Linked DNA regions of Homo sapiens: regions 1, 2, 4, 5 and 6 are each linked to region 3. The links are contacts of gene promoters, found by promoter capture Hi-C in human tissues and cell types (Jung and others, 2019). All regions are on one chromosome and are shown on one strand. The core of a region is centred on a gene start or on the middle of the fragment in contact, and the rest is flanking DNA. Distances in the headings are between cores, read along the strand shown.

Evidence for each region. Contacts are between HindIII fragments. The study calls those that stand out against the background at their distance.
Region 1: a contact is called between a fragment that was not itself captured here and the fragment with the promoter of CTR9 in region 3, in 1 of the 25 tissues and cell types used here (H1 embryonic stem cells).
Region 2: a fragment that was not itself captured here is called in contact with the fragment with the promoter of CTR9 in region 3 in 1 of the 25 tissues and cell types used here (lymphoblastoid cells).
Region 4: a contact is called between a fragment that was not itself captured here and the fragment with the promoter of CTR9 in region 3, in 1 of the 25 tissues and cell types used here (H1 embryonic stem cells).
Region 5: a fragment that was not itself captured here is called in contact with the fragment with the promoter of CTR9 in region 3 in 2 of the 25 tissues and cell types used here (lymphoblastoid cells and spleen).
Region 6: a fragment that was not itself captured here is called in contact with the fragment with the promoter of CTR9 in region 3 in 1 of the 25 tissues and cell types used here (spleen).

What each region holds. Positions count from the first base shown.
Region 1 is chr11:10,465,989-10,470,834 of GRCh38, forward strand. All of the region lies in intron 2 of AMPD3 (adenosine monophosphate deaminase 3), which reads left to right. Among named protein-coding and RNA genes, the nearest start is that of AMPD3, 13 kb to the left of the region's middle. The HindIII fragment of the contact is 3,528 bases long and covers 1-3,024 here.
Region 2 is chr11:10,352,164-10,357,151 of GRCh38, forward strand. The region is part of intron 2 of CAND1.11 (a long non-coding RNA gene); the gene reads left to right. Among named protein-coding and RNA genes, the nearest start is that of CAND1.11, 46 kb to the left of the region's middle. RefSeq lists enhancers at 1-990, 1-231, 232-763, 1,295-1,826, 1,827-2,357. The HindIII fragment of the contact is 7,535 bases long and covers 1-4,988 here.
Region 3 is chr11:10,747,837-10,752,497 of GRCh38, forward strand. CTR9 (CTR9 component of Paf1/RNA polymerase II complex) reads left to right here and starts at 3,410. Exons shown (of 25, transcript NM_014633.5): 1 at 3,410-3,621. The coding sequence starts at 3,577. RefSeq lists enhancers at 2,779-3,279, 3,078-3,227, 3,248-3,297. The HindIII fragment of the contact is 21,303 bases long and covers 1-4,661 here.
Region 4 is chr11:10,420,769-10,425,806 of GRCh38, forward strand. The region is part of intron 3 of CAND1.11 (a long non-coding RNA gene); the gene reads left to right. Among named protein-coding and RNA genes, the nearest start is that of AMPD3, 32 kb to the right of the region's middle. The HindIII fragment of the contact is 3,899 bases long and covers 239-4,137 here.
Region 5 is chr11:10,324,479-10,329,011 of GRCh38, forward strand. All of the region lies in intron 1 of CAND1.11 (a long non-coding RNA gene), which reads left to right. Among named protein-coding and RNA genes, the nearest start is that of CAND1.11, 18 kb to the left of the region's middle. RefSeq lists a silencer at 4,244-4,533. The HindIII fragment of the contact is 5,263 bases long and covers 1-4,533 here.
Region 6 is chr11:10,439,695-10,444,875 of GRCh38, forward strand. No RefSeq gene overlaps it. Among named protein-coding and RNA genes, the nearest start is that of AMPD3, 13 kb to the right of the region's middle. The HindIII fragment of the contact is 3,104 bases long and covers 1,232-4,335 here.

The DNA.
Region 1 (4,846 bases), core at 11-2,510, 280 kb before region 3:
CAGTGGCTCATGCCTGTAATCCCAGCACTTAGGGAGGCCAAGGCGAGTGGATCACCTGACGTCAGGAGTTCAAGACCAGCCTGGCCAACATGGTGAAACCTCATCTCTACTAAAAATACAAAGATTAGCCGGGCGTGGTGGGGGGCACCTGTAATCCCAGTTACTTGGGAGGTTGAGGCAGGAGAATCGCTTGAACCCAGGAGAAGGAGGTTGCAGTGATCTGAGATCGCACCATTGCACTGAGCTTGGGTGACAAGAGCAAAACTCCGTCTCAAAGAAAAAAAAAAAAGATCCACTGGCTCAAAATTCTCACTGCCAGCACAGCAGCAGTCTGAGATCAATCTGGGACACTCAAGCTTCGTAGGGGGAGGGTCGTTGGCCATTGCTGAGGCTTGAGTAGGAGGTTTTACCCTCACAGTGTAAACAAAGCCACCAGGAAGTTCAAACTAGGTGGAACCCACCGCAGCTCAGCAAAGCTGCTGTGGCCAGACTGCCTCTCTAGATTTCTTCTCTCTGGGCAGGGCATCTCTGAAAAAAAGGCAGCAGCCCCAATCAGGGACTTATAGATAAAACCCCCATCTCCCTGGGACAGAGCACCTGGGGGAAGGGGCAGCTGTGGGCACAGCTTCAGCAGACATAAATGTCCCTGCCTGACAGCTCTGAAGAGACCAGCAGTCCTCCCAGCACAGCGTTCAAGCTCTGCTAAGGGTGAGACTGCCTCCTCAAGTGGGTCCCTAACCCCCGTGTATCCTGACTGGGAGACACCTCCCAGTAGGGGCCGACAGGCATCTCATACAGGAGAGCTCTGGCTGGCATCAGGCAAGTGCCCCTCTGGGATGAAGCTTCCAGAGGAAAGAACAGGCAGCAGTCTTTGCTGTTCTGCAGCCTCCACTAGTGACACCCAGCCAAACAGGGTCTGGAGTGGACCTCCAGCAAACTCTAGCAGAGGGGTCTGATTGTTAGGAGGAAATCTAACAAACAGAAAGGAATAGCACATCTAATCAGAGACCACATCCGAAAATCACCAGCATCAAAGACCAAAGATAGATAAATCCACGAAGATGGGGATGTAAACCAGTGCAAAAAGGCTGAAAATTCCAAAAACCAGAATGCCTCTTCTCCTCCAAATGATCACAACTCCTTGCCAGCAAGGGAAAAAAACTGGACAGAGAATGAGTTTGACCAATTGACAGAAGTAGGCTTCAGAAGGTGGGTAATAACAAACGCCTCTGAGCTAAAGGAACATGTTCTAACCCAATGCAAGGAAGATAAGAACCTTGAAAAAAGGATAGATGAATTGCTAACTAGAAAAACCAGTTTAGAGAAGAACATAAATGACCTGATGGAGCAGAAAAACACAGCACGAGAACATTGTGAAGCATTCACAAGTATGAATAGCTGAATCAATCAAACGGAAGAAAGGATATCAGAGATTGAAGACCAACTTAATGAAATAAAATAAGAAGACAAGATAAGAGGAAAAAAAATGAAAAGGAATGAACAAAGCCTCCAAGAAATATGGGACTATGTGCAAAGACCAAACCTACGTTTGATGGATGTACCTGAAAGTGACGGGGAGAATCGAAACAAGTGGAAAACACTCTTCAGGATATTATCCAGGAAAACTTCCCCAACCTAGCAAGACAAGCCAACATTCAAATTCAGGAAATACAGAGAACACCACAAAGATATTCCTCGAGAAGAGCAACCCCAAGACACATAATCGTCAGATGCCCCAAGGTTGAAATGAAGGAAAAAATGTTAAGGGCAGCCAGAGAGAAAGGTCAGGCTACCCACAAAGAGAAGCCCATCAGACTAACAGCAGATCTCTCTGCAGAAACCCTACAAGCCAGAAGAGAGTGGGGGCCAATATTCAACATTCTTGAAGAAAAGAATTTTCAACCCAGAATTTCATATGCAGCCAAACAAAGCTTCATAAGCAAAGGAGAAATAAAATCCTTTACAGACAAGCAAATGCTGAGAGATTTTGTCACCACCAGGCCTGCCTTACAAGAGCTCCTGAAGGAAGCACTAAACCTGGAAGGGAGCAACCGGTACCAGCCACTGCAAAAACATACCAAATTGTAAAGACTATCAACACTTCGAAGAAACTGCATCAACTAATGGGCAAAACAACCAGCTAGCATCATGATGACAGGATCAAATTCACACGTAACAATATTAGCCTTAAATGTAAACGGGCTAAATGCCCCAATTAAAACACACAGACTGGCAAATTGGATGAAGAGTCAAGACCCAACAGTGTGCTGTATTCAGGAGACTCATCTCAAGTGCAAAGACAGACATAGGCTCAAAATAAAGGGATGGAGGAATATTTACCAAGCAAATGGAAAGAAAAAAAAAAAAGCAGAAGTTGCAAGTTTAACCTCTGATAAAACAGACTTTAAACCAACAAAGATCAAAAGAGACAAGGAAGGGCATTACATAATGGTAAAGGGATCAATGCAACAAGAAGAGCTAACTGTCCTAAATATATATGCACCCAACACAGGAGCACCCAGATTCATAAAGCAAGTCTTAGAGACCTACAAAGAGACTTAGACTCCCACACAATAATAATGGGAGACTTTAACACCCCATTGTGAATATTAGACAGATCAACGAGACAAAATTAACAAGGATATTCAGGACTTGAACTCAGCTCTGGAACAAGCTCCAACCCAAATCAACAGAATATACATTCTTCTCAGCACCTCATCACACTTACTTTAAAATTGACCACATAATTGGAAGTAAAACACTCCTCAGCAAACGCAAAAGAATGGAAATCATAACAAACAGTCTCTCAGACCACAGTGCAATCAAATTAGAACTCAGGATTAAGAAACTCACTCAAAACCACACAACTACATGGAAACTGAAAAATCTGCTCCTGAATGACTACTGGGTAAATAAGGAAATGAAGGCAGAAATAAAGATGTTCTTTGAAACCAGTGAGAACAAAGACACAACGTACCAGAATCTCTGGGACACATTTAAAGCAGTGTGTAGTGGGAAATTTATAGCACTAAATGTCCACAAGAGAAAGCAGGAAAGATCTAAAATCAACACCCTAACATCACAATTAAAAGAGCTAGAGAAGCAAGAGCAAACAAATTCAAAAGCTAGCAGAAGACAAGAAATAACTAAGATCAGAGCAGAACCGAAGGAGATAGAGACATGAAAAACTCTTCAAAAACTCAATGAATCCAGGAGCTGTTTTTTTTTTGAAAAGATCAATGAAATAAATAGACTGCTAGCAAGACTAACAAAGAGAAAAAGAGAGAAGAATCAAATAGACACAATAAAAAATAATAAACGGGGTATCACCACTGATCCCACAGAAATACAGACTACCATCGGAGAATACTATAAACACCTCTATGCAAATAAATTAGAAAATCTAGAAGAATTGGATAAATTCCTGGATGCATACACTCTCCCAAGTCTAAACCAGGAAGAAGTTGAATCCCTGAATAGACCAATAACAAGTTATGAAATTGAGGCAGTAATGAATAGCCTACCAACCAAAAAAAGCCCAGAACCAGACAGATTCACAGCCAAATTCTACCAGAGGTACAAAGAGGAGCTGGTACCATTCCTTCTGAAACTATTCCCAACAATAGTTTGGAGCTGGTACCATTCCTTCTGAAACTATTCCAAACTCATTTTATGAGGCCAGCATCATCCTGATGCCAAAACATGGCAGAGACACAACAGAGAAAATTTCAGGCCAATATCCCTGATGAACATCGATGTAAAAGTCTTCGGCCGGGCGCGGTGGCTCACGCCTGTAATCCCAGCACTTTGGGAGGCCGAGGCGGGCAGATCACGAGGTCAGGAGATCGAGACCATCCCGGCTAAAAACGGTGAAACCCCGTCTCTACTAAAAATACAAAAAATTAGCCGGGCGTAGTGGCGGGCGCCTGTAGTCCCAGCTACTTGGGAGGCTGAGGCAGGAGAATGGCGTGAACCCGGGAGGCGGAGCTTGCAGTGAGCCGAGATCCCGCCACTGCACTCCAGCCTGGGCGACAGAGCGAGACTCCGTCTCAAAAAAAAAAAAAAAAAAGTCCTCAATAATATACTGGCAAACCAAATCCAGCAGCACATCAAAAAGCTTATCCACCACGATCAAGTTGGCTTCATACCTGGGATGCAAGGCTGGTTCAACATATGCAAATCAATCAGCGTAATCCATCGCATAAACAGAACCAATGACGAAAACCACATGATTATCTGAATAGATGCAGAAAAGTCCTTCAATATAATTCAACACCCCTTCATGCTAAAAACTCTCAATAAATTAGGTATTGATGGAACGTATCTCAAAATAAAAAGAGCTATTTATGAAAAACCCACAGGCAATATCATACTGAATGGGCAAAAACTGGAAGCATTCCCTTTGAAAACTGGCGCAAGACAAGTATGCCCTCTCTCACCACTCCTATTCAACATAGTATTGGAAGTTCTGGCAGGGGCAATCAGGCAAGAGAAAGAAATAAAGACTATTCAAACAGGAAAAGAGGAAGTCAAATTGTCTCTGTTTGTGGATGACATGATTGTATATTTAGAAAACCCCACCATCTCAGCCCCAAATCTCCTTAAGCTGATAAGCAACTTCAGCAAAGTCTCAGGATAAAAAATCAATGTGCAAAAATCACAAGCATTCCTGTATACTAATAACAGACAAACAGCCAAATCATGAGTGAACTCCCATTCACAATTGCCACTAGGAGAATAAAATAGCTAGGAATCCAACTTACAAGGGATGTGAAGGACCTCTTCAAGGAGAATTACAAACCACTGCTCAAGGAAATAAGAAAGGACAAAAACAAATGGAAAAACA
Region 2 (4,988 bases), core at 349-2,848, 400 kb before region 3:
TTGGGCACGAATGTTCTCAGAGCTGCCATAGATATTTTAATCAGGATGTCCTTTTCACTTGAATGAGAGGAATGCAGGTTCTATATTTACTTGTTTGTCCCTTCTATCAGATTGTGAGGCCCAAGGGGGCAGGCGCCTCTAACTGATTCATCAGCCTGTGCCTGCTGCGTAGCACAAAGCCAAGCACAAAGCCGGGCACAAAGGACTCACTTGGCGAAAGTTTGTGGGATGGAAGAATGAATGCGGTGTCTTCCTCGGAGTCCCCTCTTTTCAGGCTCCGCTTTATACCCTTTCTCTGGCGCAGGTCCCTGCTCACTGCAGGTGTCTCCTAAGAGCTTATGTCCCTATGTTTCCTTCTCATCCTGGAAACGGAAGTTTATTTTGAAGCCTGCTCTATTGTTCGTCCGGCTTGTAATCCCAAACTGAATGGGACTGATTTGTTGTATGCTTGGCTGGTCTTCACAACGCATGTTTTTGTGATATGTAACATTTCCTTTTAGATCAAGTGTGGCCTGGTATAGTTGCAAGGGCCAGAGCGTCCAGGGCAGCTGGTGTTCTGAATTTCAGCCTTCCCATTTTCTATTGTTTTATTTTTTTAATTATTATTATTATATTTTATAGAGATGGGGTCTCCCTGTGTTACCCAGGCTGATCTCTAACTCCTGGGCTCAAGTGATTCTCCCTCCTTGGCCTCCCAAAGGCATGAGCCACCATTCCCAGCCCCATTTTCTAATTGTGTAATTCAGTAAATTGGATTTCATAGAACCTCAGCTTCCTTTGTCCATAAAGTGGATATAACAAGGTGAACTTGGCTGAGATTAGACCCAAATATTTTTGGATCACTTGAGAAGTAAGTAGAGACTGAAAAAGAACTGTCATTTGTAATCCGTACACATTTTTGTGTTTCTAAAAAGAGGAAACGTCTCAGAAAATGCTTCTTATAGGCCGTATGCAAATATAGAGAAAAAAATCTTACCTTGGGATGGGGGAAGTTCTGCTACTATGACTCCAATAACTAAAATGTTTGGCAAAATTGTGTAAAATGTCAACATATTAGGCAGAGTTGATCTCTTCAAAAGGTTTTATTTGGAGCATTTTATCTTTCTTTCTCTTTCTTTTTCTTTGTCTGTCTCCTTCCCTTCTCTGCCTTCCCTCCTTTTCTTTTCTTTTTCTTTTCTTTTTTCTTTTTCTTTCCTTTTCTTTTCTTTTTCTTTCCTTTTTCTTTTTCTTTTTCTTTTCTTTTCTTTTCTTTTCTTTTCTTTTCTTTTCTTTTCTTTTCTTTTCTTTTCTTTTCTTTTCAGATAGGGTCCGGCTCTGTCACCCAAGCTGGAGTGCAGTGACACAATCATGGCTCACTGCAGCCTTGACCTCCTGGGCGCAAGCAGTCCTCCCATCTCAGTCTCCTGAGTAGCTAGGTGTATAGTTATGTGCCACCATGCCTGGCTATTTTTTTTATTTTTATTTTTTTGCAGAGATGGAGTCTCACTATGTTGCCCAGGCTGGTCTCAAACTCCTGGGCTCAAATGATCCTCCCACGTCAGCCTCCCAAAATGCTGGCTTTATAGGTGAGAGCCACCATGCCCAGCCTAAAATTTCCTATGTATTTACAATGCCATTTGTCACTTTATTATTGCTTGCTCTTGAAAATTTTTTAACGGATAAGCCATTTTTCTTTTTTTCTGAGACAGAGTCTTGTTCTGTTGCCCTGGCTGGAGTGCAGTGGCATGATCTCTGCTTACCGCAGCCTCAATCTCCTGGGCTCAAGCGATCCTCTCACCTCAGCTTCCTGAGTAGCTGGGACTATAGGGGCACCATGACTAGCTAATTTTTGTATTTTTTGTAGAGATGAGGTTTTGCCATGTTGCCCAGGCTGGTCTTGAACTCCTGGGCTCAAGCAATTGGCCCACTTTAGCCTCCCAAAGTGCTGGGATTACAAGCGTGAGCCACTATGCCAGGCCGAATAAGCCATTTTCCAACTAGACAATCATAGAAACTCAAGAGCTGAGACACTGAAGATGGCTAGACAACTGTATAACCATGATCATAGACTCATGCTAGAGGAGAGAATGGGGAAAAGAACTTAACTGGGCTTTATGGGACTCAGCATTGACTGGGCTGTTATTATCACACACAGTGTTCTATGGTTAGAATGCTTGTTATGTTATTGTTTAGAAGTTGGAGTTTTCCACGAAATAGACACATTAATTCTCAGGCCTCCTGGAACACGATCAATCCTAAGGCAGGAAATAAAGACTAAGGACATGGAGCTTAGGTTGAAGTGTGAGGGAAATAACTGCCTCCTTGATCTGAACCTCAAGGATTTGTAGAATGAAGTATCTTCCCACTGTGGGGAGGCAGGCTGGCCCTTCCTCCATGGCAGCAGTAGAGAGCAATGTAGAAGTCAAACCCAGAGACTGGGGAATCTGGGCAAAGGTACTGAGTTTCAAGTTTCTCTCTGTTGTAATTCTCTTTTCTCTCCAAGCCTTTGGTAATGTCTTGTTAAAAGTTTCAGCCTAGTCTGCTTTATCACAACAGGGAAATGGTGGAGGAGTCTGTACAGCCCATGCTGGGGCACAACAGTGGAGTTAGGAAAGTTGTACCCTGAAGGAAGCAGGTGTTCAGACATAGGAGTCCCCCATGTGGGGCCAGGCAGCTGGCAGAGATGAAAAGTACAGAGGAAATGGGTGGACCACGTAAGTGTTCCCCAGCGGAATTGGATAAAATCCTGATTTCACGAAGTCAAGTAGGATGAGGCTCAAGCTACAATGATGGTGCATTAAATAGAAGCATGAGTTTACAAACTGGTGAAGTCTGACATACTTGAGTTCTATTAGACACTAATGTCTACTTCATTCAGCTATAAAGGACATACTATTATAGTCAGATCTCACTAAATAAATAAATTCAATTCATAGCTATGATCGTAGCTACATTTCCAGTATAAATTTAATTGATCGATCTTTGAGATTCCTTCGTGTTCAGAAGTTCTGTGAGTTTATGGGGTACTGGAAATACCACTGGAGTCAGCCCCGCCCGAGTGTCCATTAGATCCCCCAACCACATCCCCCTCATTCACTGTCTTCTTTCCCCTCAACTGGCATGGAGTGTGGGGCAATACAGGAATGTTTCAGAACGTGTAGCCAGGGCATGTTGTAATTTATTAGGAGTCACTCTTAAGTGGAGAGGATCTTATTCTTCAGATAGTCATTCACATTCTTGGAAATTATGGTTCTGAGGTCTCCTTGGTTGCAGGAGGGGAAACTCCCATTAATCTTGTGACGTGCTGATGAATTGCTTGAGAATTTCTTAAAAGCAGAGGAGACATGTCAGGAGGAACATAAACAAAACCTCAATTTCAAAATAGCAAAACAACATAAATCTTCCTTGAAATTTTCACATGAGTAGATCAGGCCATGCTACAGGTCAAGGCCAAAGAGCCACAAGGCAGACTGTGTTCCCCAAAGATGGCCACAGCAGCATCTCTCCTCCCACATGTTCTTCCTATGATGACATGTTGGCACTTGTACAACCCTCCTTGTGAGAGATGTGGTCTATATTCCATCTGCTTGAATCTGTACAGGCTTGTGAATTTGGGGGAAATTATGCTATGTAATTTCTGAGCCTAGGTCATAAAAGCTATGGTTTCTGCCTGGTTCTTGTGAGATATTTGCTCTTGGAACTTATAGTAGATATCTATTGCTATGTAACAACCCCAAAACTTAGTAGTTTAAGACAATACACATTTATTATCCATCCCACAGTGTTTCTGAGTTAGGAACTCAACCACAGTTTAACTGTGTCTTCTGCTTCAGAATCTTTCACAAGGCTATAATCAAGATTTTGGTCAGGGCTGGGGTCTCATCTGAATGTTTGAATGGAGAAGAATCTACTTCCAAAGTCACTTACGTGGTTTATTCGTGGTTTTTGGCAGGATTCACTTCTTTAGGGATTGTTGGACTGAAGACCATTAGTTTTGTATAGCTATTGGCCAGGGTAACACTCAATTCCTTACCATGTGAGCTTCTTCATTGTGGCAGTTTCCTTCATCAAAGCCAGAGAAAGAGAGAGATTATCTTGTGACCTAATCATAGCAGAAATATTCCTTCAATGTTGCCATATTCTATGAGTTAGAAGCAATTTAATCAAGGGGATGAGATTACACAAGGCTGTGAATACCAGCAGGTGGAACTCATTGGGGACCATTTTAGAGGCTTCTTACCACAGAATTTAACCAGCAAACTATGAAGAAGCCCAGATGAGGAGGTCATATGCAGACTTTCTGACCTCAAGCACCAAGACACATGAGTGAAAGAGCCTTCAGATAATTCCAGCTCCCAGCTATTCAGTAATCCTCAGCCTTGAGACTTTCCAGCTGAGGTTCTAGATGTTGTAGAGCAAATACAAGCTGTCCTTGTCATGTCCTTCCCAAACTCCTGACCCATATAATCCTTGAGAATAATAAACTGGTTGTTGTTTTACACCATTAGGTAGCAAGTGGAACAAGCCACATATCTTGAAGTTTCATTGTTCAGCTAGTCACCTGATTTGACCATATGAAATGACCATTGCATTTTTGCTCATGCCAATTTTTGCAACTGAATTGATATCACAGTTCAGCTAAAATTTTGCGAGCTGAAAATACCTTAAGAGTCCACACAGGTCTGAAAAACCTCGAAACTTTCTGGTTGCCATAGGTACCTTTTTGTCTTATCTAATAAAAGCAGCACCCCATTTTGGGTATCTTGCCTGTAGCAGCAGTTTGTAAAATTCTTTCAAAGGGCACAAGACAAATCAAGTTTTCCCAGGCTCAGTTCTGGGATTCAGCTGAGCTTTTATGGTCAAGGGCATACTCCTAAATCAGACAGGATGCTCTAAACATTCTCATTAGTCCATTTTGAATAGGACTATCATAGTGCTTGGTCTGGCATGAACTATCCATCAGAATAACTCTGCATACTTTTTGTTTACACATGTGTATTGAGTAATTT
Region 3 (4,661 bases), core at 2,160-4,659:
ACTGCTTTGCCTTGATCTGGTGCACTCAGGCCCAACATGGGGCATGGTGTTTTGTGAATGGACATTATGCAATCATGCCAGTTGAAATAAAATCTTTGAAATTGCTCCAAAACTGGTTCTACAGCTTTAAAACATCTAATTTCATCAGTGCCTGCTACATTTAGGGAAAAACAAAAGGCTGCTTGTAGCAACCTGGTACCAAGAGTGTAGTTTAAGTCTCAATTGTTGCCAGGCCCCTGATAGGTGATTCTCTCTTCATTGTCCTTGCTGATTCCTTGCAGGCCACCTTCCTCTTCACACCCTCTGTGTGCTAGAATTCCTCAGGCTGGGAACTAGGCCCTTCTCTTGTCACTCTCCATTCTCTCCCTAGGTTATCTAATCTAATTTAATCCCATAGTTTTAAAATTCATCTTTATGCCAATAGCTCTCAGACCTATTTCTCCAGGTTAGAAACTGTCTTCTAAATTACAGATCTGTAATTTAGACTATCTGAAATCTGCATCTGGCTGTCGCAGAGACAGTACAAACTACAAACAACACATGTGAAATCCAACTAGTGGTCTACCCTTGCCCAAATGTGCTCCTCCACTAATCTTTCCTATTTTAGGAAATGACACATCATTCACCCAGTTGTTCATGCCAGAAACTGGACGTCCTTCTTGACACTACTTTTTCAGTGACCCCGGCCTATATCCAATACATTGGCAAGTCCTAGTGACTAAGGTATCAACAGATGATTGATAGACAGATAGATAGATGATAATCTTAAATCCATCCACTTCTCTCCACCTCCACTGTCTTAAACCTATTCCTATTTATCATCTGTGACCTAGACAGCAGTTTCCTAAGTGGTCTGCCCACATCCTCTCGAGACACTTTCCAATCCATCTTTCACAACATAGCCAGAACAATCTTTTAAAACCAATTCTTTTTTTTTTTTTTCAGACAGAGTCTCACTCTGTCGCCCAGGCTGGAGTGCACCGGCATGATCTTGGCTCACTGCAACCTTCACCTCCGCCTCTGGGGCTCAAGTGATTCTCATGCCTCAGCCTCCTGAGTAGCTGGGATAACAGGCGTGCACCACCACACCCAGCTAATTTTTGTATCTTTAGTAGAGACAAATTTCACCATGTTGCCCAGACTGGTCTTGAATTCTTAAACTCATGTGATAGGCCACCTCGGCCACCCAAAGTACTGGGATTACAGGCATGAGCCACCGTGCCTGGCCAAAACCAATTCTCTTTTATTCTTTCTCCCTCTCATTGACACATACACATCACTTAAAGCATTTCAATCACTTTGCATGTAAGATAAAACCCCAAATCATTAATATATACTAAGTCAAAAGAAATTCTGAAGGACAAAAGCATTTAGAAAAAAAGTTTACTTACAAAAACACTTGCAAAAGTATACAGGTGAATTTACGCTTTAGAAGGACTGATACATCAAATGAACACACACCAAGGTTTACAGTTAGTTGCTTCATGGTGAGAAAAGAGCAATTTTCTCATATGATTGCCATATGACCCCAAGCTCCCACATATCTTCAGACTGTAGCAGTACAAAAGTCAGCAATTAAACTGTAAGAGAGTCAGTAATATATGGGAAATGCTGAAAGTTTTGTTCACTTTGGAGACTACAGAGTGTGATACTGTTGTTTCACGGTTTATTTCAGAACACAAAGTATTTTGTTTTTCCTGTGGGAAGTAATATGTACACTCACTCATTTTGGAAACAGGACAAGATGTCAGTTTTGCTTTATAAGCATAAACCCCAGCATGTCTGGGTACTTCTTATATCAGCTTCAACTCATGCCACTCTCCCCCTCATTTTCTACATTCTAGTCACATGACCTTCTTGCAGGTTCTCAAAGCTCTTCCCCAACATGCCGTCCCCTCTGTCTGGTACACATTCCCCTACATACTTTACCTGCCAAACCTTACTCATTTTCCCAGATGCAACTTAAATGTCACTTCCTCCAAATCCCACTCTAAACTGAGTGCCCCAACTATTCAATCATAGCACTCTGCATTATCAGGTATGATGCCTTTGGATGCGAATAACTGAAAAACCAAACCTATCAATAGAGTTTTTAATATCAGGGAGGCTTTTGGGCATGGAGAATAACAATCACCACTATGTGTACTTTTGTTTAATGCTTACTTTATAAACTTTAAAATATATTAAACAGTATTTCTGGGAAATACTGTCTGATGCCATCCAATGCAGTATTCACTAACCACATGTGGCTATTGAACACTTGAAATATGACTAATCCAATTAAGGAATTTAATTAGGAATTTTTTTAATTTAAATTTTGGAAAAACTAAAGTGTGTGAACCTATTTTTTCAACTGCAAACTTTATAAAATCTAAACACAGATCCAATATTTCCAATTAAAATCAGGCAACTGAGATCAGTGTATGCATGTGAAATACATATCGAATTTTCAAGACTCAGTATAAAAAAATGTAAAAATTATCTGAATTTTTATATTGACTACATGTTGAAATGAGATTTTGGATATATTACGTTAAATAAAATATATTACTAAAATTAATTTCCTCTTTTTTTTTTTTTTGAGGTGGAGTCTCGATCGATCCCCAGTCTGGAGCGCAGTGGCTGATCTCGGCTCAGCGCAACCTCCGTCTCCCGGGTTCAAGCGAGTCTCCTGTTTCAGTCTCCCTGGTAGCTGGGATTACAGGCGCCCACCACCGCGCCGGGCTAATTTTTGTATTTTTAGTATAGACGGGTTTTCACCATGTTGGTCAGGCTGGTCTCGAACTCCTGACCTCAGATGATCCGCCCGCCTTGGCCTCCCAAAGTGCTGGGATTACAGGCGTGAGCCACCGCGCCTGGCCTCATCTGCAATTTTACTTAAATCACAAATATACTAGATCTTCTTACATGCTTCGAAGAACTAAAAAAAATAAGACATGAATTATCACAATGATTACCGAATTAATTGTAAATTTTTTTATTTAAACTAGTCACAAAGGTATCACAGGTATGACTTACACCTAACGGGGGCCAAAAGATGGGTTGCGAAACGAATGACTGAATTATCCCTAACAATCTTGGGAAGAAAACAGGATTGGCCAGGCCCATCCCGAGAGGTCCACGTCAGGCAGGGGCCCCGCCCACCGCGGGACCAAGCGGCTACGCCTTCCAAGTTTTCATTCGGGGCCGCGCCAGCGCTGAGGAGAGTCAGACGCCAGATGGTTCCGAAGGTCCTGCAGGCTCTCGGGGCACCCTACAGCCGACACGCCAACAAAAGCTTCGGAGCCGCCAACCCCAAAACGGAAACACCGGAGCCACAAGCTGAGCTCGCGTAGGGCACGCTCCCCCGGGAGTGCTTCCGGGACAGGGGGCGGGGTCGCCGGAAGTGGCCGTCCGCCGTCCGCTGCTCGTTGTTTAAGCGGCTGACGGGAAGGAGAAGCCAGAGCTCCAGCGGCGCCGCGGGGCGGCAGTCAAGACCAGAGCCGGAGCCGTCACTCACCTCTGGATTAGCCTGAAGCGGAGACTACCGGCTGCGGAGCGGCGGGGCGAGACACTTGCTCGCCTTTTGACCCCATCATGTCGCGGGGCTCCATCGAGATTCCCCTCCGGGACACTGACGAGGTAAGTGTCGTGTATGGAGGCGGGTGGGGGCCATGAACTTGTACGATCGCCCCCACCGACTTCGCTCGACTTCGTTTCTGAAGCGAGAGCATCCTCCTTCCCTAAGAGCCCTGATCGAAATACCTGGCCAAGGTCTGATCATCATCTTCTTCAGCCCCTGTGCCCTCTCAGGCTGGGGGCACCGCGTCTCTGCAGCCTCAGGGCCACTCGGAGAAGGAGTTCTTGAAAGTTCCTCTCCAGCCTGTTCGAATTTGACAGTGCGCTACTCTTTTCCTAACCAACCCACGGGAGCAGAGGTGTGAGAGTACCCGATAAACTGTAAAACACCTCGCAGATTACAGAGGTGGGCGCTGATGTTTCCGGGGTTTATATGCTTGCTGCTCAAACTCGAGATCTTTCCCTGGGAATATATAGGAGGTCGCCTCTTCTCCCTTAGAAACTCGAGTCTGTCATGGTGCGCTGTGTTCTCTACACCAACTCTCCTTCAACGAGATATCCCAAGATTTAGCCGCCCCTGTGTGCTGATAAAATTTAACCTCCTCTCGCTTACCTATGTCTCATTCATGGGTGGCCTGTGGCTTGTCTGAGTAAAGCTCTCAGCTTTGATGTTCAGTCTTCTTGTATATCTTTTATTTTTATTTTTTTTGTTTGAGATATAATATTGAGGTATAAAATTCAGTGGTTTTTAGTGTATTCGCAAAGTTGTATAGTCATTACCTCTAATTCCAGGACATTTTCCTATTATTATTTTTGTGCTTACAGTCAGGACTGTCTGTTACACGCAGGTGCCACCTCCATGATTAATGTGTGCAGTGGCATTCAACTTTGCATGGCTTGTAGGGTCATGCATCTCAAGGAGTCAGACCTATGGCATAATAGTCTCTAGGGTGCTTATCTGCACTTTACTTGGATTCTATGTTAAGTAGGATTTTGTTTTGTTATTTTTTAGTAAGCAGACCATTTCTAGTATTTTATAGTTCCAGTGATCTGGGGACAAGTAGCAGGGTTTGTTTGCTTCTCTGTGCTTTAACTTTATTATA
Region 4 (5,038 bases), core at 938-3,437, 330 kb before region 3:
CCACACTGTCTTCCACAATGGTTGAACTAATTTACACTCCCACTAACAGTGTAAAAGCATTCCTATTTCTCCACATCCTCTCCAACATCTGTTGTTTCCTGACTTTTTAATGATCACCATTCTAACTGGTGTGAGATGGTATCTCATTGTGGTTTTGATTTGCATTTCTCTAATGACCAGTGATGATGAGCATTTTTTCATATGTTTATTGGCCACATAAATGTTTTCTATTGAGACGTGTCCTATTCATATCCTTCGCTGACTTTTTGATGGGGTTGTTTTTTCTGAGGGTTGCCTGTTTACTCTGATGATAGTTTCTTTTGCTGTGCAGAAGCTCTTTAGTTTAATTAGATCCCATTTGTCAATTTTGACTTTTGTTGCCATTGCTTTTGGTGTTTTAGACATGAAGTCGTTGCCCATGCCTATGTCCTGAATGGTATTGCCTAGGTTTTCTTCTAGGGTTTTTATGGTTTTAGGTCCTACATCTAAGTCTTTAATCCATCTTGAGTTAATTTTTGTATTAGGTGTAAGGAAGGGGTCCATTTTCAGTTTACTGCATATGGCTAGCCTGTTTTCCCAACACCATTTATTAAATAGGGAATCCTTTCCCCATTGCTTGTTTCTGTCAAGTTTGTCAAAGAGCAGATGGCTGTAGATGTGTGGCATTTATTTCTGAGGCCTCTGTTCTGTTCCGTTGGTCTATATGTCTGTTGTAGTACCAGTACCATGCTGTTTTGGTTACTGTAGCCTTGTAGTATAGTTTGAAGTCAGGTAGTGTGATGCTTCCAGCTTTGTTCTTTCTGCTTAGGACTGTCTTCACTATATGGGCTCTTTTTTGGTTCCAAATGAAATTTAAAGTAGTTTTTTCTAATTCTGTGAAGAAAGTCAATGGTAGCTTGTTGGGGATAGCATTGAACCTATAAATTACCTTGGGCAGCATGGCCATTTTCACGGTATTGATTCTTGCTATCCATGAGCATGGAATGTTTTTCTATTTGTTTGTGTCGTCTCTTATTTCCTTGAGCATTGGTTTGTAGTTCTCCTTGAAAAGGTCCTTCACATCCCTCGTAAGTTCTATTCCTAGGTATTTTATTCTCTTAGTAGCAATTGAGAATGGGAGTTCACTCATGATTTGGCTCTGTTTGTCTATTATTGGTGTATAGGAATGCCTGTGATTTTTGTACACTGATTTTGTGTCTTGAGACTTTGCTAAAGTTTCTTATCAGCTAAGGAGATTTTGCGCTGAGATGATGGGGTTTTCTAAATGTACAATCATGTCATCTGCGAAGAGAGACAATTTGACTTCCTCTCTTGTTATTTGAATACCCTTTATTTCTTTCTCTTGCCTGATTGCCCTGGCCAGAACTTCCAATACTATGTTGAGTAGGAGTGGTGAGAGAGGGCATCCTTGTCTTGTGCCGGTTTTCAAAGGGAATGCTTCCAGTTTTTGCCCATTCAGTATGATATTGCCTGTGGGTTTGTCATAAATAGCTCTTATTATTTTGAGATACGTTCCATCAATACCTAGTTTATTGAGAGTTTTTAGCATGAAGGGGTGCTGAATTATATCAAAGGCCTTTTCTGCATCTATTCAGATAATCATGTGTTTTTTGTCATTGGTTCTGCTTATGTGATGGATTACATTTATTGATTTGCATATGTTGAACCAGCCTTGCATCCCAGCTATGGAGCCAACTTGATCGTGGTGGATAAGCTTTTGGATGTGCTGCTAGATTTGGTTTGCTGGTATTTTATTGAGGATTTTCCTATCAATGTTCATCAGGGATATTGGCCTGAAATTTTCTTTTTCTGTTGTGCCTCTGCCAGGTTTTGGTATCAGGATGATGCTGGCCTCATAAAATGAGTTAGGGAGGAGTCCCTCATCTTCTATTGTTTGGAATAGTTTCAGAAGGAATGGTACCAGCTCCTCTTTGTCCCTCTGGTAGAATTTGGCTGTGAATCTGTCTGGTTCTGAGCTTTTTTTGGTTGGTAGGCTATTCATTACTGCCTCAATTTCAGAACTTGTTATTGGTCTATTCAGGGATTTCACTTCTTCCTGGTTTAGTCTTGAGAGGGTGTATGTGTCCAGGAATTTATCCATTTCTTCTAGATTGTTTAGTGTATTTGCGTAGAGGTGTTTATAGTATTCTCTGTTGGTAGTTTATATTTCTGTGGGATTAATGGTGATATCCCCTTTATCATTTTTTATTGCTTCTATTTGATTCTTCTGTCTATTCTTCTTTATTAGTCTGGCTAGTGGTCTATCTATTTTGTTGATCTTTTCAAAAAACTGGCTCCTAGATTCATTGATTTTTTTGAAGGGTTTTTTGTGTCTCTATCTCATTGCTGCTCTGATCTCAGTTATTTCTTGTCTTCTGCTAGGTTTTGAATTTGTTTGCTCTTGCTTCACTAGTTCTTTTAATTGTGATGTTAGGGTGTCGAGTTTAGATCTTTCCTGCTTTCTCCTGTGGCCATTAAGTGCTATAAATTTCCCTCTAAACACTGCCTTAGCTGTGTCCCAGAGATTCTGGTATGTTGTGTGTCTGTTCTCATTGGTTTCAAAGAACTTATTTATTTCTGCCTTAATTTTGTTATTTACCCAGTAGGCATTCAGGAGCAGGTTGTTCAGTTTCTATGTAGTTGTGCAGCTTTGAGTGAGTTTCTTAATCCTGAGTTCTAATTTGATTTCACTGTGGTCTGAGAGACTGTTTGCTATGATTTCCATTCTTTTGCATTTCCTGAGGAGTGTTTTATTTCCAATTATGTGGTCTATTTTAGAATAAGTGTGATGTGGTACTGAGAAGAATGTATATTCTATTGATTTGGGGTGGAGAGTTCTGTAGATGTCTATTAGGTCTGCTTGGTCCAGAGCTGAGTTTGAGTCCTGAATATCTTTGTTAATTTTCTGTCTCGTTGATCTGCCAGTGGGGTGTTAAAGTCTCCCCCTATTATTGTGTGGGAGTCTAAGTCTCTTTGTAGGTCTCTAAGAACTTTATGAATCTGGGTGCTCCTGTATTGGGTGCGTATATATTTAGGCTAGTTAGCTCTTCTTGTTGCGTTGATCCCTTTAACATTATGTAATGCCCTTCTTTGTCGCTTTTGATCTTTGTTGGTTTAAAGTCTGTTTCATCAGAGACTAGGATTGCAACCCCTGCTTTTTTTTTTTTTCTTTCCATTTGCTTGGTAAATATTCCTCCATCCCTTTATTTTGAACCTATGTATGTCTTTGCAAGTGAGATGAGTCTCCTGAATACTGATGCGTCTTGACTCTTCATCCAATTTGCCAGTTTGTGTCTTTTAATTGGAGCATTTAGCCTGTTTACATTTAAGGTTAGTATTGTTATGTGTGAATTTGATTCTGTTATTATGATGCTAGCTGGTTATTTTGCCCGTCAGTTGATACAGTTTCTTCATAGTGTCGATGGTCTTTACAATTTGGTATGTTTGCAGTGGCTGGTACTGGTTGTTCCTTTCCATGTTTAGTGCTTCCTTCAGGAGCTCTTGTAAGGCAGGCCTGGTGGTGACAAAATCTCTCAGCATTTGCTTGTCTGTAAAGGATTTTATTTCTCTTTCGCTTATGAAGCTTAGTTTGGCTGATATGAAATTCTGGGTTGAAAATTCTTTTCTTCAAGAATGCTGACTATTGGCCCCCACTCTCTTCTGGCTTGTAGGGTTTCTGCAGAGAGATCTGCTGTTAGTCTGATGGGCTTCCCTTTGCGGGTAACCCAACCTTTCTCTCTGGCTGCCCTTAACATTTTTTCCTTCATTTCAACCTTGGTGAATCTGAGGATTATGTGTCTTGGGGTTGCTCTTCTTGAGGAATATCTTTGTGGTGTTCTCTGTATTTCCTGAATTTGAATGTTGACCTGTCTTGCTAGGGTGGGGACGTTCTCCTGGATGATATCCTGAAGAGTATTTTCCTACTTGGTTCCATTCTCCCTGTCACTTTTAGGTACATCAATCAAATGTAGGTTTTGTCTTTTCACATAGGTCCATATTTCTTGGAGGCTTTGTTTATTCCTTTTCATTCTTTTTTCTCTCATCTTATCTTCACACTTTATTTCATTAAGTTGGTCTTCAATCTCTGATATCTTTTCTTCCGCTTGATTGATTCGGGTATTGTTACTTGTGTGTGCTTCACGAAGTTCTTGTGCTGTGTTTTTCAGCTCATTTATGTTCTTCTCTAAACTGATTATTCTAGTTAGCAATTTGTCTAACCTTTTTTCAAAGTTCTTAGCTTCCTTGCATTGGGTTAAAACATGCTGCTTTAGCTTGGAGGAGTTTGTTATTACATACCTTCTGAAGCCTACTTCTGTCAATTGGTCAAACTCATTCTCCATCCAGTTTTATTCCCTTGCTGGGCGAGGAGTTGTGATCCTTTGAAGGAGAAGAGGCATTCTGGTTTTTGGAATTTTCAGCCTTTTTGCACTGATTTTTCCTCATCTTTGTGGATTTATCTACCTTCAGTCTTTGATGTTGGTGATCTTCAGATGGGGTTTTGGCGTGGACGTCCTTTTTGTTTATGTTGATGGTATTCCTTTCTGTTTGTTAGTTTTCCTTGTAACAGTCAGGCCCCTTTGCTGCAGATCTGCTGGAATTTGCTGGAGGTCCACTCCAGACCCTGTTTTCCTGGTTATCACCAATGGAGGCTGCAGCACAACAAAGATTGCTGCCTGTTTCTTCCTCTGGAAGCTTCGTCCCAGAGGGGCACCCACCAGAGGTCAGCTGGAGCTCTCCTGTAGGAAGTGTCTGTCCATCCCTGCTGGGAGGTGTCTCCCAGTCAGGAGGCACAGGGGTCAGGGACCCACGTGAGGAGGCACTCTGTCCCTTAGCAGAGCTCAAACGCTGTGCTGGGAGATCTGCTGCTCTCTTCAGAGCTGGCAGGCAGGAACGTTTAAGTCTGCTGAAGCTGCGCCCACAGCCGCCGCTTCCCCCAGATGCTCTGTCCCAGGGAGATGCGAGCTTTAACTATAAGCCTCTGACTAGGGCTGCTGCCTTTCTTTCAGAGATGCCCTGCCCAGAGAGGAGGAATCTAGAG
Region 5 (4,533 bases), core at 1,179-3,678, 420 kb before region 3:
ATGCTATGGTAGGACCAAAATTAATACTGTATATGTCAAAATAAATGTGTATTACTTATAAAGTATATACAGTTCCTAAAAATTATCAAACAAGGTTATTATGTACAACATTTCTCCCTTCTGTGTCTCATTCCCTAAATATTATGATTGTTAACATATTGCACAAGCTTGACCATGTTTATGCTTCATGTATTTTCTTGTTTATGTCCCCGTTGTTCTCCCTCAGTATTTTGTAAAGGCTTTGGAAAAGTTCCAGCCTATCTCAGCTATGTGAAGAAGAGTTCAGGGAAGGAGTTTGTATAACACTAAAGAAATGTCAGTATCTCCTCACAGGTAGGGGCTGACATGATGCCACGGCAATGGGAAATGAAGTGGGAAACCCGAAGCAGGAAGGAAAACTCAGGAGAACTGGGTTGGGATAGTGGTTTCAGCTTCTCCTCGCCTCCTAAAGAGTCTCTTGATAGTTCTCAGGCCTTGAAGGTTCTGCCTGCCCCCAGGTTCCCCACCCCAGGAAAATAAGCAACTTCTCAGGAGAATAATGAGGTTGGTGTTTACCTTTGTGCTTCATTTGAGTAGCATGAGAGCACCCCATTCCTCACATCTGTTCATTCTTCTCCCCTTAGAAATCTTGTCTCAGCTGAAAGGTCAGAGCTAGAAGCCCCAATCTGCTTCTAGCTCTGACCTTCTGGCTTTGTCAGGAATCCCTATGAATTTGTGCTGTTGATTTTCTTTGAACTAAATACAGAAATGTGTCTGCACTCTGGGATAGAGAAGAGAGTATAGTAATTGCCAGGAGAACTGAAGATGACCTTAAGGCAGGCCAGGTGACTGGTAAACCATACCCTTCACAAGGCTACCAGAGCTCTAGCCTGACCAATATTATTTTGAAAGGGAATACATTAGAATCCCTGGTGACTAGATGAACATGGCCATCACTATTTCTACAAACCTGTCTTCTGATGAACATATACTCCTGCTGGATGGTGTCAAGACATGCTTGTTTCTTGAGTGGTTTAGATACCAGTTATTGCCCCTCCTGTTATGCCTGGTAACTAGGATGCTGTCAAGAAAATACAGCAGGACTTCATTGAGCTTAAAAAGAGCGTTTCAAAAATATTGCATTAGCCTTTTGTCCTTTCAGTCTGTTTTTCATAGAACAAATGTAATCTTAGTCGCTACAAATTTGTTTAAAATAGCTCTTCTGGTGAGTCACCTAAAGTTAACTGCAGATATGGTATTGTTTTAGCCATGTCAAGCTTGAAATGTTATCCAAGTCCTAGGAACTACTCACTATGGGAAGCTGATGATGTATGTGCCCTCACACGTGTTTTGAGGGTGATCCTATAATGTCCGGAGAGAAAGAAATGCCTGAGATGAACTGGTCAGCATTACATTTCTCAGAACGGGCTGCAAGAGCTTCAGAAGCAAAAGGAGTGTTCTCTGTAGGCTCAGATGCTCACATGACCCAAGACACGTGAAGGGTCTGCCCATCATTCACCCCTCTATCCCCACAAGTGGTCAGAAAGTTAGGAAAATCTCCAAGAGACCATGCAGAAGGGTCAAAGGATCTTGCAGATGTTCTGAGCAAAAAAATGAAAACTTTAAACAGAACATTGTGCCATGACTTGAAAAGGTCATTATCTAGTTCACACTTACATCAGACTATAAATATTGTCAGAAAAATGGATATGTTTGCCAGGACCATGAACAGTAAAATTGCTTAAAATAGGCCACAGAAACCCTCAAGGCCAGTGGGGCCATGGCAGGCCATGACACTCAAACCTGATGCTGCCTTGTGAGAGACCTCAGCAGGAACAAAAGCCAACAGCTGCTTATTGGAAAATTTATACTCAGTGGCCCTCAAAAATTGCAAAAGCCTTTCAAGTCATGTAAGTTAATTTTGTCTCACTCTTCCACCAGGTAGAAGTGAGACAGGGAGACTCATGCTCCTTAAATGAGGTCCCTTGTCAAAGACTAGCTGTCTTATGGCCTTTGAATACTCTGCCCTTCCCCCTTCCTATGGTATAGCTTTGTGTCCAGTTAGCACTGAGCAGAAGCTGCTCTCCTGCTGTCCCCACCCACTGTTGGCTAAAGCCAGGTCACCTCCTGCCAGGCAGCGGCTGGGTGAAAGTCCAGAGAAGCTCTCCTGAATAAACAAGTCAAACAAAGGCAGTTCCCAGCAGTGGATGGGGCTGTACTCCAGAAGTCTATTTGCAAATCTGTCCTTTAGAACTCGGAAGACATTCCCCAGGAGGAGCAATGTTATGCAGTGTGGCAAGGTTCCCAGGCTAGCCCACACCTCTGATTTAACCCAGAATGGGCTGGGGAAACAGTGCTCTAGAACTCATCATTATGGGTAATACCTTTGTAGTCTCTGCTCTTCAGTTTACAAATAGTTGCTGAGCTAGGCATGGTTCCAGGTGATGTGAAGGTTCAAAGCTGCCTCAGCTTTGTGGAGTAGGTAGATTCAGTAGCTCCTGGGTGCACAGTGGCTGAGATTTTCCCAGTCTCATGAAATCCCTGCTTCTCTTTCCTATCTACATGTTTTAGGCTGAAAGTGAAGGGATGACCATTCCGGCTTTTCTTTGGTTTGTTTCTTCAAGATAACCTGGTGTAGGGAAGGGTGAGAGTCCTGGCTCTATCATTACACACAGCAGCATCTCCAAGCTTCAGTTTCTCCTCTGAAAAATAGGATAATATGTAGCTAAGAGAGCCTTGGAGTTGCCTCCCCAGCCCTTGTTCTTCTCTTGGTAACTACCATGACTTTTGTTAGGGTATCCACATCTCCCCCAATAGACCACTCCACTCCTGAAGACTCAGGCCTAGTGCAATTCCATTTTAAGGCCACTATTACAGGACCCAGTGATGGGTGCTGGCCTAATTCAGGCCAGTGAGCTTGCATAAGTTTATTGGCTTATTTCCAGAAAAACAAATTTCCTTTTTCCTGCTAGATAAGAATGGGACACATATGTGGTCTCACTAGCAATTCAGGCCAATGAGTTTGCATAAGTTTACTGGCTTATTTCCAGAAAAACAAGTTCCCTTTCTCCTGCTAGATAAAAGTGGGAGACATATGCAGTCTCAGCAGCAATAGAAAGCCACTCTGAGACTAAAACAGGGGCAAGCCCTAGATGGAAGCTCTCATTGTGAATGGCAGAGTGGAGTGATGGAAAATAGAACTCCCTGATAAAGTTGTTGAACTCCTAAATGGACCCATCCTCAATCCTGTCATACTTCTATTGTATAAACCAATCATCTCCTTCACTTAGTAACCCATAGTGAGTTGAGCTTTCTGCTCCTTTTAATGGAAGCCATCTTAATTAATACATTATAGCACAGGATTTACTATGGGCATTAAATGGGATATAGCATTCACAGTATCTGTCTCATGCTGAAAAAAGAAAAAAAATTCATAGTATTTAGCACAGAATTTATATATGACCCCTGCCCTTCCAGTCCAAGGGCATTAATGGAAAAGACCATAGTTTCTCAGGCCTTTGTTGGATAGGGAAGAAGAGGGCATGTGTGGACTCCAACACGACCTTAACCTGGTTTGAGGCTTGAATATCTTGCCTGGGCTAGAAAGGTGGCCCCTCTGGACTGGCTTTAATTTTAGGATCAGTCCCTTTAGAGGGAGTAGATCTTGTAAGCTGGGGTTTCCCTAGCCCTTGGCAAGTATACATGTTGAAGAGGGTTGGGAGACAAAGAGGGAAGAAAGGAGAGAACCATGACTTGCTGGTGTAATAACAAAAGGTCCTACCTATCTTTGGGATCGAGATTAATCTCTCCTGTCTTTCTTCTTTTTCCTCCTTTCTTCCTTACATTTTTTCGCACTCCCAGTTCTCATTAGGGCTGAAGAAGAAAGGGAAGTCAAAGCTGGGATGGCAAAGGAGTGGAAGTATATGCCAGAGGGAGAAAGGGGAACTTGTGTAAGCTAATTCTGATGACTTTGCATTCAAGTGTAGCACAGATCTCAGTTTTCAGACTAAATGGTAGCTTTAGACTCCTATCGGAGGTTGGCAAGGCTGGTTTCTTGGAGTTTTTGCATGAAGAACAGGAAACTAGGCAGAGCAGCCTGGTTCAAGGACAAAGGGTTATGTTATGACTAATAGGAAGGAGGAATCATTTGGAGTACACACAGTGGCTGTAAGTCAGATTTCGGTCATTTCATTACCCCCAGATTTAGCCTAAGTCACCAGGGAGAGGAGACTGCAATAAAAGAAAAATTAACAAAAAGCTGACATGACTGAAATCTGAAGGAACTTGATTCACATGACATTACTGCTTTGCAGTTGTGCTGTATTACAAGGGTAGAGCTCATTTGTCCTAGTGTTAGCATACTGCACTTGAGAGTATGCTAGAACACAGGATGGAAAAGGAGTGTGAGAAAACATTACTTCACAAAAGTGGGTCAAGGGTGCCATGTTCCAACTGTGAAATGGATGCTTAGAAATGAAAATAGAACTCCAGTGTGGTCTGACCAGAACAGGATTGAGCTGCCACCCTCTTATCGGGACACTAGATTTATGGCTG
Region 6 (5,181 bases), core at 1,534-4,033, 310 kb before region 3:
AGTGGGACAGCCTAGTGTTCTGAGCACCGGGACTGTCAGATTCACATGTATTTGGATGGTCCAGAGCAATTGTGGTGGCAGAAGTCTGTTTGCAGAAGGATCTAGAAACCTCTTGGGAAGGGGTCTAGCCTGTGAATGTTGTTCACTCTGGCCCAGCCTCAGAGGGAAGGGCTGTAGTAGAAAATGAATAAAAACAGGGCAGTTCACTGAAATTGCTGTGAGAGTACAGGGCGACCGTGTTTCGTGTTCTCAGTAATAGTGACGCACGGGGACAGGGAGGGGATAGTGGGAGGGATCTCTCCCCTTCATAGTAAAAACCCTGGGACACAACTGCTGAGCCTTAAGGCCATAAGCCATAAGGCCTGATTGAGTACAAGTCACCAGCTACAAAGAAAGGCAAGGAAGGTCAGGGGGCAAAGGTGGTGACCCTTAGCACTGTTTACAGATCCTCACTGAGGAGGAAAGAAAAGCTACAGGGACAGGTGGGCTTGGCCAGGTACTTGTAGCCATCAGGTTCACAGGAGGCCTTGAGGTCAGGTCAGAGGCAGGAAGATCCTGTGCTGAAGAGTAAAACTTGGAGAGGGGCCTTGTGAGATCTTGCGAGGGATCTGGAGAAATAGGATAGGGCAGTGATTAAAAAGGCCTATCAGGACCAGGCTAACAGGAGTTAGCCAGGGAACATGAGACAAATAAATAACTTGGAATCTGGCTTCATTGGAAGCTTGCTGCATAATCACTGTAGCTGCTCTCTCATCTTGGCCCTTTAGGCCCAGAAAGTAACAGCCCTGATATTATTAGCTCTTGAGTCTTGCACAGACCCTCACTGTTTCCCTACACACTTGCCACACCTTTGAAAATAGTCCTTCTATGAAATGACCTGTTAAATCAATTTGCCTAATATGAATGCACCATCTGCCTGCTGCTGGGACTACTGATGCAGAAGCCATTCTGTTGATGGCTCCAGGGGGACCCTCTGGAACTCTGGCTCTCAGTAACCAGCTCTGGAGATAAAAGACAGGGACTGAGATTTAAATGGTGGACCCTTTATATCACATAAAACTAAAGATATAGATTGTGACTTCACTGACATACTTCAGAGATCCCTGGTAGAAATTTGGTAATACATGGCAGCCTAACTCATCAGGATGAGTAGAGATTAAAGAGATCTGATTTGAGGCAGGAATGGGGTGGTGGTATTAGGGGACAAGAAGGCTACAGTCAGACCTCAGCCCAGGGCCATGATCATCACTCAGACCTATTCCTCTTGCTCTATGGAGAGGAGCTGAACAGAAGGCCAGACCCTGGAAGAGGAAAAGAATTAAAGTTGAAGACTCCCCTGAAGAAGGAGGAGGGTGGAATGGGTGGTACCTGGCACTAGAGTGTCTGCACAGGGAGTGGCATGAGTGGGCACCTCTACAACTTTGATGGAAGGAAGCAAGGTGCTTACAGAGTAGCTGTGGGGAGAAGAACTTTCTTCCCCTCTGACCTTCAGAATATGCTCACGTGGAAGGAATGCGTGAGACACACAGCTGGAAATGTTGAGAAAACACAAGAGCCTGGGCCTGAGGAATCTTAAAATAGGTTTGTTATATATTTAATAAATGCTGGAAAAGTGACAGGATTTGGAAAAGTTAATGTAAAAACAGCACCACCCTGGAGCACTAAATCTGGTTTTATTTACCCGGGCCATCTGGTACTTCCCTTTGGTAAAGTAAGGAATTTATACACATTGAAAACCAAGCTTTAATGCGTAAACTTAACAGAATGTCCAATCACAAGTATGTGATAGAAGTAAAGTAGGGGAAGAAATGACTCAGGTATTATTCCCCTCAATTCTCCCAGGACCTTTGCACATGCCATTCCCCATGTCTCCTCCCTCATATCCTGACGAAGGTTGAGTTTTCTTGTTATGCTCTGGTATGGTTCTTGTATTTTTTCTTCACAGCTCTATCATAGTTTGAAGTCATTTGATTAACGTCCTGTGTCACCCACTAGCTGATGACCTCCATGAAGACAAGAATGGTGCTCTGCTCACCACTGTTGCTCTAGGACCCAGTGGCTGACACCTAGATGCTCAATAGATCTTTCATGGATGACAACATGAAGGACTTTTAAAGCATGTCAAGTTGAGACTAGCTTCCCAAATTAGAGAAGGTGACACATAATATATTAATATAATCCTGGTAACCTCAGGCCTATGTTGCCTCCATTTCTCTGACACATTTCTGACACATTACCAGGAGGGAGTCCTGCTGATGTCAGGAATTCATGAGGAAGGGGGGTGAAAACTTTAATCAGATCAAATCTTACCTTTAGAGCAGGAGAGACATACTTTCTCTTTGATCTCCCTGAAACTGCCAAAAGGTTTTTGCCGAACTCATAGGTCTTTGGACCTTTCAGTGGGTGCTACAACTATGCAAATATCGTGGTGCACCAAGACCAAGCTGGAGAAGTTCTGAGGTTGTGAGGATATCTAAACTGTGCTGTGTTGATATTTTTATCTGCTCTCTTTGATGCAAGCTTCTAGGCCTGGTATACTCAAGTTAACCACGAAAACCAATGGCGGTTATATTTGGAAAGGAAGGCTATGCCCTGGTGAAATTATACGTGAGACACAAAAAATACTGAGGTCACTGGTCAGTGATGTTAGAGAGCAGCTCAGTAAGGCCAGTGGGAGGTGTGATATGGTGGCTTAATTAAAAGGCCTCTGGCCTGTGCCCTCTGCCTTTTATTCTTCGTCACTTCCTCCTTTCTGCTCCATGAAACATGAGTGTAATGGCTGAAGCTCTAGCCTCCGCCTCTTTTTTTTTTTTTTTTGAGACGGAGTCTCGCTCTGTCGCCCAGGCCGGACTGCGGACTGCAGTGGCGCAATCTCGGCTCACTGCAAGCTCCGCTTCCCGGGTTCACGCCATTCTCCTGCCTCAGCCTCCCGAGTAGCTGGGACTACAGGCGCCCGCCACCGCGCCCGGCTAATTTTTTTTGTATTTTTTTTAGTAGAGACGGGGTTTCACCTTGTTAGCCAGGATGGTCTCGATCTCCTGACCTCATGATCCACCCGCCTCGGCCTCCCAAAGTGCTGGGATTACAGGCGTGAGCCACCGCGCCCGGCCGCCTCCGCCTCTTCCTTAACAAAGGAAGAGCTAATTTCCCACGCCCCCCCTCCCACCACAAAGTATGAGGGCCACACTGGAGGGATGGTAGAGTGATGGCTGGAAGAAGTGTGGGGCTTTTGTGGAACAGCCTGTAATGTCCAACTCTGGACTATTTAGGGAAAGGAAATGAGACAGAAATTTTTCTCTTGTTTAGGCCACTATTATTGTGGGTCTCTGTTACCATCAGCCGAACTTAATTCCCGTGAATATATTTGTGAACACTAAATTATTGGTGCATCATAAGCTTTCATCATGTTCATTTAGATAGGGATCTGAACTTTGCCATAGGTGACTGGTAGTGATCTGGATCCAGTGGGAATTGTCTGGAATGTGATCAAGACATGAAATGTGCAGATGGGCCAGTGACGAGGGCTTACCTTTTGGGAGCAGTTGACAGGTGATAGATACCGATGACTTCTAGCTGATTTATTCCTCTTAAAGAGTCATCCTTTGGATGAATCGTGAGCTATGGAAACGATTGCTCACCCTGAGCTGTTTGGGGCTTGTGTTCTTCTCAAGATTTCTGAGGACCTGGCTCGAGCTTCTGTGTCAGAGTCCTCATTCTGACTATGGGGCCTCAGTCCTTTTTTGGTGTTTATGCTCTTTCTCTGGCTGCTGCCCTCCTTTCCTCTTCTGAGCCTTGCCAGTGTGGAACATGACTGTCTTCTGTGTTCCCCCAGAACACGGCTAAACCGCTTTGCCTGAAGCCTTGGGGATACTGGATGGTGGATAGAGACCCACATGCTCTGCCCTGTTCATACTTAATGTTCCAAAGAAATAGTAAAGTTCTGCAATAACAGTTTCTAAAAAAATTCAATCTTTAATTTTGTTGTTCTTTTGATAATTTTTTACTGTGGTAAAAATATATATATAAGTTGCCATTTTAACCATTTTGCATGTGCAATTCAGCAGCATTAATTGCATTCACAATGTCATACAATCATCACAATTTTTTGATTTCCCAAATTAAATTCTTTAAAAAATGTTTAAAAATTTTTTAAAAATTTTTGTTATTTTTGTTTTAGATTCAGGGGGTACATGTGCAGGTGTGTTACATAGGCATATTGCGTAATGCTGAGGTTTAGGCTTCTACCAAATTAAATTCTTAAATAGAGCCCTCTTTCCTGACCCAGAGATGTTATAGCCCCAGTGAGGTCATAGTTCGGCTTCTTTTTAAATAACAGGAATTCAGGAACTTGAAAAATCCCCATGCTTTTCTCTGGTATAATTTTAGCCACCCCTTCCTCCAGATGTCCCTGGTAGAATGCACAGATCTGTGGATGTATTGAGTGTTGATGGTACTGTCGAAGGCTGATGGTGGCCAGCCCCTGGAGTCTGACATTCAACTGGGAAGCAAACACCGTGGGACAGGAAGGCTACAGACCCTCACTCCAGATTCAGCTTTTGACCCTATTGCCCATTGAATGGTTGGGTGAGCAGTTCTGAACAAGGCACCAGGACGAAGGTAGCTTGAGACTAGGAAAACTAGAAGCTACAGCCAGGGAGGACTCCTGGGAAAGAGTATGGCCTAAGGGGAATGTGTGTGTGGTGGGCAGGTGGGCAGCAATGGGGGAGACTGCATCTCTGGGAGACAGAGGTCATAGCCTCACCTGAGTTCCACTCTACTCACCTCCCTCTCCCTGCTTCCAAAAATTTTAGACGGCTATGGTCAGCCTAGAATTTGAAGTCTGAATTTCAGATGATAAGGCAGAAGAGTTGAAGCAGATTGAGGGCAGAGAATTTGGGAAATTCTATTTGAAGCTGTGACTCTCATCTATGGATGTTCAGCTGCAGAGTCTCACCAGAATAATGTAATGTTGAGGCTGCTGGTGGCATTTTGGAGACTATGAAAGATACACAAACATGGAAACAAGATAGTGGTGACCTGGAGCAATAAACTCTACTTGTGTAGCTGAGGATGATCTTGTACAGAGTCCTGGCAAGAAGGTAGAGACGACAGGTCATTCTTAGATGGAGTAAAGGACTGCTAATTTTCAGACTTCAGTTTGATTCAGAAACTGTGTCCCTA